2 separate regions of the Homo sapiens genome follow, and region 2 is linked to region 1. The links are contacts of gene promoters, found by promoter capture Hi-C in human tissues and cell types (Jung and others, 2019). All regions are on one chromosome and are shown on one strand. Each heading gives the region's core, a stretch centred on a gene start or on the middle of the fragment in contact. The rest is flanking DNA. Distances are from core to core; before and after follow the strand shown.

Region 1 (3,081 bases), core at 306-2,805:
AGTCACTGGTAAAAGATATATAAAATATTTTTAATTAAAAGCTTTAGCTCAGATAATACTAAACCAGTGGTTCTTAAACCCAAGTGATGCTGAGGCTACTGGTCTGGGGACCACTTTGAGAACCACTATTCTGAACCATAATTTCTGATTATGAACCCTATTTAAGTCAGCTTAGTTGACACATAAGTTATAGAAGGAAGCAACTTTTAGAATGAGAAATCCTTTCTGCTAGGTTGTAACCAGATTTTTAAAAGGTTTGACTTGAGACTTTAGTTGAATAGACATCTTGTGGAACATACAAATATTAAAAGATGTGGAAAGTGAGGCCAGGAAAGTTGAAGGGAATCAAGCATGGCTAATAGCTATGGGTGGCAGAACAACTGTTGTTATACAACCCAGGGTTTCTGGATTCTCCAGGCAATTTCCAAAGCAGCTTATACATGTAACAAACTTTTCCATGTTGAAATAATCTGGGGATGATGCCACCTATGTTTAATATAAATCAAATGCTGGCAAAACCTTTTTTTTTTTTAAGTGAAAGGTATGTTTTTTAATACTCTTCTACTGACTATGGACAGTCTACTTCAAGCTTTTCCAACCCCGGCCCGCACGTGGCACAGGACGGCTTTGAATGTGGCCCAACACAAATTCGTAAACTTTCTGGAAGCATTATGAGATTCTTTTTTGCGATTTTTTTTAAAGCTCATCGGCTACCTTAGTGTTTGTGAATTTCATGTGTGGCCCAAGACAATTCTTCTTCCGATGTGGCCCAGGGAAGCCAAAGATTGGACACCCTTGGTCTACTTCCAAGAAGCCTACTGCAGTTTCTCGAAAAAAAAAAAACAAACAAAAAAAACTCACAACCAGAAAATCGGACTAGTAAAAGTGTAATTTTAGGCTTAGAAAGAATCTTGGGACAACAGTACTTCACGTTTTTGGAATGTTTCCATCTTTGTGAGGCTAAGTACCGCTTTCTGCATTGTTGTGTACTTTTATCTTCATTCCTGATTCAACTTTCATCAGGCAATTTGAAGTGCTTCACCTAACAAGAAAATTAAAGAGCGATGTGCACCATCTCTGCTGTGCGATTCCAGAGCTGGCGCAGTAATCTAACTGGGTTTTAAGTTTCCCCGTCAGGCGTGACTGGGACTTGGGACATCGCCAAGCGGTCAGCGACGCCCGTCCCAGTTCAGAGGAGCAAGAAAAGCCTGTGAGCTGGGGACACCGATGTGAGAAACAACGCCCGCGTTTCTGAGTAGACAACTCGGGAGCCTGAGGAAGAAAAGCAGGGGCAGGCCGAGTCCATCTGGGGCCCCGCCTCAGACCGCCCCGGGGCCGACAGGGGCGGGCAGGAGACGGGCGAAGAGGCCCTCGGCGGGATGCGCCACACAGGACGCCGCAGGGGCACGGCTGCCAGGGGCCCTGAGGCACTAGGCCCCAGCGCCCTTCTCCTACCTCACGCTGAGGGAAGCGGGCGACAGTTATTCGGGCCCAGGGACGACGCAGCGGTTGGCCAAAGCGCGACGCCGAGCCGTTGCCAAGCGCGGAATCCAAGGAAGCCGCTCCCACAGTCCTCCGCGCGGGGGCGGGCGGGGCCGGAAGCGCGGGGGCGGGAGAGAGCGCGGCGGGAAGGGGGTGGTGCGGGAGGCCTGGGGAAGTGGGTGGGGGCGGAGAACGGCGGGTCAGAGAGAAGGCAGCCCGGTCCCCCTCAGTGGAAGGGAGTGGCGGTGGGCGGAGGGTGTTGAGGGGACGGTGCCAGCGGCTTGCGGGAAGCCGGGCGATGCGGGTAGAACGGTGGAGGAGAGGGCAGGGAGGCCGGGGCCTCCCGTGGAACGGAACCGGGGGGTTGGGAGGCTGGGGGCGGCCTGTGTGAAGGGGGCGGGGAGGGAAAGGCTCGCGGCCAGTAGATGCAGGAGGGAGGAGGGCCTAGAGGGGCTCCGGGCTGGCGGCCTCTGTGAGGAAGGGGAAGGATATGGAACCAAGATCCTTTAAATCCTGATGAACTCATCCGTAAAGCAGATGCCCAAAGGATGATAGTAAGCTTACTGTGACATAACTCCCGGAGCCGCAGCACGAGCCTTGTGAACCTTGGAAGCCCGTTTTCCGCGCAGTCACTAACTCGCTTAGTCACCCTGTGTAAAAGTTATTCTGGGATGACACCTGCCTGGGAAGTCTCACCTTTCCCCCCACCTCCTCCTGTCTGCGTATTGTTCTGTAGCACCCCGTGCGCACCTTGATTGTAGCGCTTAAGGTGTCCGTTTTATTTACTAGACAGGGATTGAACCATTGTGTCCCAACCACCTAGAACCTGGGTCATAGTGTAAAGCTTAATCAATGTAATATAAATGGGGGAATTAAATTCATAATTGTTTAATGTTTAAGTTTTGTCTTAAATTTTAAAAGTAAATGTTGGGGATGGAGGGGAGGGACAGAGGGAGTCTAAAGACACCAGTAATTAATGAGTTTTTATAAAATAAGTAGTGTTGGCCGGGCGCAGTGGCTCATGCCTATAATCCCAGCACTTTGGGAGGCTGAGGCTGGCGGATCACCTGAGGTGAGGAGTTGGAGACCAGCCTGGCCAACGTGGTGAAACCCTGTCTCTACTAAAAATACAAAAATTAGCCCGGCGAGGTGGCAGGCGCCTGTAATAAATCCCAGCTACTCAGGAGGCTAAGGCAGGAGAATCTCTTGAACCCAGGAGGTAGAGGTTGCAGTGAGCCAAGATGGTGGTATTGCACTCCAGCCTGGGTGACAAGAGCGAAACTCCATCCAAAAAAAGAAAAAACATAGTGTTGGGGGACAATTCTCCATGGGTCACCTGCACTTTCCCGTGTTTTGTGAGCAGAGACACTGACTGCCTTTGTTCTGGAGTACTATGATAGCTGGTATTTTTTAAGATGTGATTAACAGTTAAATTAGACTTGAGTAAAGCAGTTGGTCCTCCACAAGGTGGGTTGGCCTCATCCCGTCAAGGGAAGGTCATAAGAGAAAAGACTAAGGTCCTCTGAGGAAGAAGGAATCCTGCCCCCAGACTGCCTTCAGCTCTTTCCTGGGTCTCTAACTTGACCTACAAATTTTAGG
Region 2 (3,081 bases), core at 421-2,920, 46 kb before region 1:
CATGTGACAAAATTCAACACTCATTCATCACAAAAACATACGAAATAAGAGACAGCTTTCTCAACATTACTGAATCGTGATTTTTTCCTTAGTTTGTTAGTATGGTGAATTACATTGATTGATTTAAAAATAATGAAGCAACCTTGCAGCCTTCGAATTAATCCTACTTGGTCATGGCGTGTAATTTTAAAAACATATTTCTGAATTTTTAAAAAACAGCTTTATAGGGAGATAACTCATATACCATACAGCTCACCCAATATAAAGTCTACAATGCAATGGTTTAGGTATAGTCACAGATTTGTGCAACAAGCACCACAATCACTTTTGAAACATTTTCATCATCCCAAAAAGAAACATAATATCCATTAGCAGACACTCCCTGGCAAATCTTTATAGATTTGCCTAATTTATACCTTTCATATAAACAGAATCATAAAACGTGGTCTTTTGTGACTGGCTTCTTTCATTTATCATGTTTTCAAGGTTCATCTGTATTGTATTGGTTGGTGCAAAAGCAATTGCATTCAATGGGAAAAATCGCAATTACTTTTGCACCAACCTAACAGCACGTATCAGTACTTCATTCCTTTGTATGGCTGAATCACATCCCATATTATGGATAGACCATATATTATTTATACCTTCATTAATTGTTGCACATTTGGATTATTTCTATTTTTCGATATTATGAATAATATCACTAAGAAAATCTGTATACAAGTTGTCATGTGGACATATACTCTGATTACTTTTGGGTAAATATCTAGACGTAAAATTGCTGGGTTATATGGTAAGTCTATGCTTAACCTTTTGGGGCACTTGTATGCTGTTTTACAAAGCACCATTTTATACTCCTACCATCAGCATTTAAGAGTTCCAATTTCTCCACACTCTTACCAATACTTGTTATTTTCTTTTTTATTATAGCATACTAGTAGGTGTGAAGTAGTATCTCACTGCAGTTTTCAGCTGCATTTCCCTAGCAATTACTGAAGTTCAGCATCTTTTCATGTGTGTATTGGGCATCTGTGTATCTATTTTGAAGAAATATCTATTCATATCTTTTGCACATTTTTAATTGGGCTATTGGCCTTTTTATTATTGAGTTGGACATTACTTATATAGTCTAGAAATAAGTCCCCTCTCAGATACATCATTTGCAAATATTTTCTCCCATTCAGTAGGTCATTTTTTCACTCTCTGGATAGCGTCCTCTGAAGTACATAAGTTTTTAATTTTGATAACGTCCAATTTATCTATTTTTTTCTTATGTCACTTGTGCTTTTGGTGTCATATCTACAAAACCTTTGCTTAACCGACAGTCAATGATATTTCTCTTCTTTTTCTAACAATTTTATAGTTTTAGCTCTTACATTTAGGTCTATAGTTCATTTTAGTTAATTTTTGTGTATGGTGTGAAAGAGATGTACAACTTCATTCTTTTGCAAGAGAATATCCACTTTTCCCAGCACAATTTGTTGAAAAGACTCTCCTTTCTTCTCTTAAATTTTCCTGGCACCTCCACTGGCTATAAACGTAAGAGTTTTTTCCTTGTCTCTCAATTCCATTCCATTCATTTATGCCTCTGTCTTCACAGTGTCTTCATCAATGTTGCTTTCTAGTTTGAGTCCCAACTTTGCTTTTCTTTTTCAACACTGTTTGGGCCATTCTGGTTCCCTTCCATTTCCATATGAGTTTTAGGATCAATTTGTCACTTTCTGTAAAAATGTTGCTGGAATTTTGACAAGGGTGGCACTGAATCTGTACATTAATTTGGGGAGCACTGCCATTTTAATAACATTAAGTGCCTATCCATAAAAATACGACATAATTTATTTAGTATCTTTATATTCTTCCCATGTTTTATGGTTTTCAGAGTTTAGGTTTTGCATTTCTTTCATTAAATTTATTCCTAATAATTTTTATGCAATTATAAATGTTAATTTCATTTTTGGGATAATTCATGGGTAGTGTATAGTGTATTTCTTCTTTTCTTCCTGAGGGGGTGCACAGTTCCTGGAGTTACTGCACTACCAGGTCAATGCATACAGCAGATGGAGCAAGGTCCTATTCAATCTCCCTGCTCCAAAAATCCATTTAACAGATTGTCCTTGGATAGCGGAAGCATCAGATATACAAATACTACACTTCATCTCAGCCACACGGCTGAGAAGATATTAATATATTTCTGCACTACACTATTGATTTTTGTATATTGATTTTTTTTTACTCTACAACCTCATTTATTCTAACAGTTTTAAAGTTGATTCCTTAGGATTTTCTATGTACAAGATCATGTCATCTGAAAAAAGATGGTTTAAACTGTTCCTTTCTAATCTGGATGTCTTTAACTCCAGTTTTAAGTTTATTTGTTTTGCAAACTGCCAAAGATAGAATCTTCCAGTTCAATGATGAACAGAACTGGTGAAAGTGGGCCGGGTGCGGTGGCTCATGCCTGTAATCCCAGCAATTTGGGAGGCCAAGGTGGGTGGATCACCTGAGGTCAGGAGTTCAAGACCAGCCTGGCCAACACGGTGAAACCTTATGTCTACTAAAAATACAAAAAATTAGCCGGGCATGGTGGCAGGCGCCTGTAGTCCCAGCTACTCAGGAGGCTGAGGCAGGGGAATCGCTCGAACCCAGGAGGCGGAGGTTGCAGTGAGCTGAGATTGTGCCATTGCACTCCAGCCTGGGCAACAGAGCAAGATTCCATCTCAGAAAACAAAACAAAACAAAAAACTGGTAAAAGTCGGATATCCCTATCTTGTTCCTGATCTTAGGTGCAAAGCATTCAGTCTTTTTTTTTTTTTTTTTTTTTTTTTTTGAGACTGGGTCATGCTCTGTCTCCCAGGCTGGGGTGCAGTGGCACAATTTTGGCTCACTGCAACCTCCACCTCCCAGGCTCAAGCAATTCTCCCAAATAACTGGGACTACAGTGCATATCACCATGTCTGACTAATTTTTGTATTTTTTTGTAGAGACAGAGTTTTGCCATGTTGCCCAGGCTAGCATTTAGTCTCTTTCCATTAAGTATGATGTTAGCCGTGAGTTTGTCACAGATGTACTTTATCAAATTGG

The links. The method cuts DNA at HindIII sites, captures the fragments that hold promoters and counts their contacts. A contact is called where the count stands out against the background at its distance.
Region 2: a fragment that was not itself captured here is called in contact with the fragment with the promoter of IFT88 in region 1 in 2 of the 25 tissues and cell types used here (hippocampus and mesenchymal stem cells).

What each region holds. Positions count from the first base shown.
Region 1 is chr13:20,565,631-20,568,711 of GRCh38, reverse strand. It overlaps IFT88 (intraflagellar transport 88), which reads right to left and starts at 1,555. Exons shown (of 26, transcript NM_006531.5): 1 at 1,456-1,555. It overlaps LOC105370103 (a long non-coding RNA gene), which reads left to right and starts at 1,683. Exons shown (of 6, transcript XR_941725.3): 1 at 1,683-2,036. RefSeq lists silencers at 1,162-1,350, 1,446-1,855. The HindIII fragment of the contact is 1,600 bases long and covers 1,316-2,915 here.
Region 2 is chr13:20,611,261-20,614,341 of GRCh38, reverse strand. All of the region lies in intron 13 of IFT88 (intraflagellar transport 88), which reads right to left. It also overlaps the pseudogene RNU2-7P. Among named protein-coding and RNA genes, the nearest start is that of IFT88, 46 kb to the right of the region's middle. The HindIII fragment of the contact is 6,832 bases long and covers 1-3,081 here.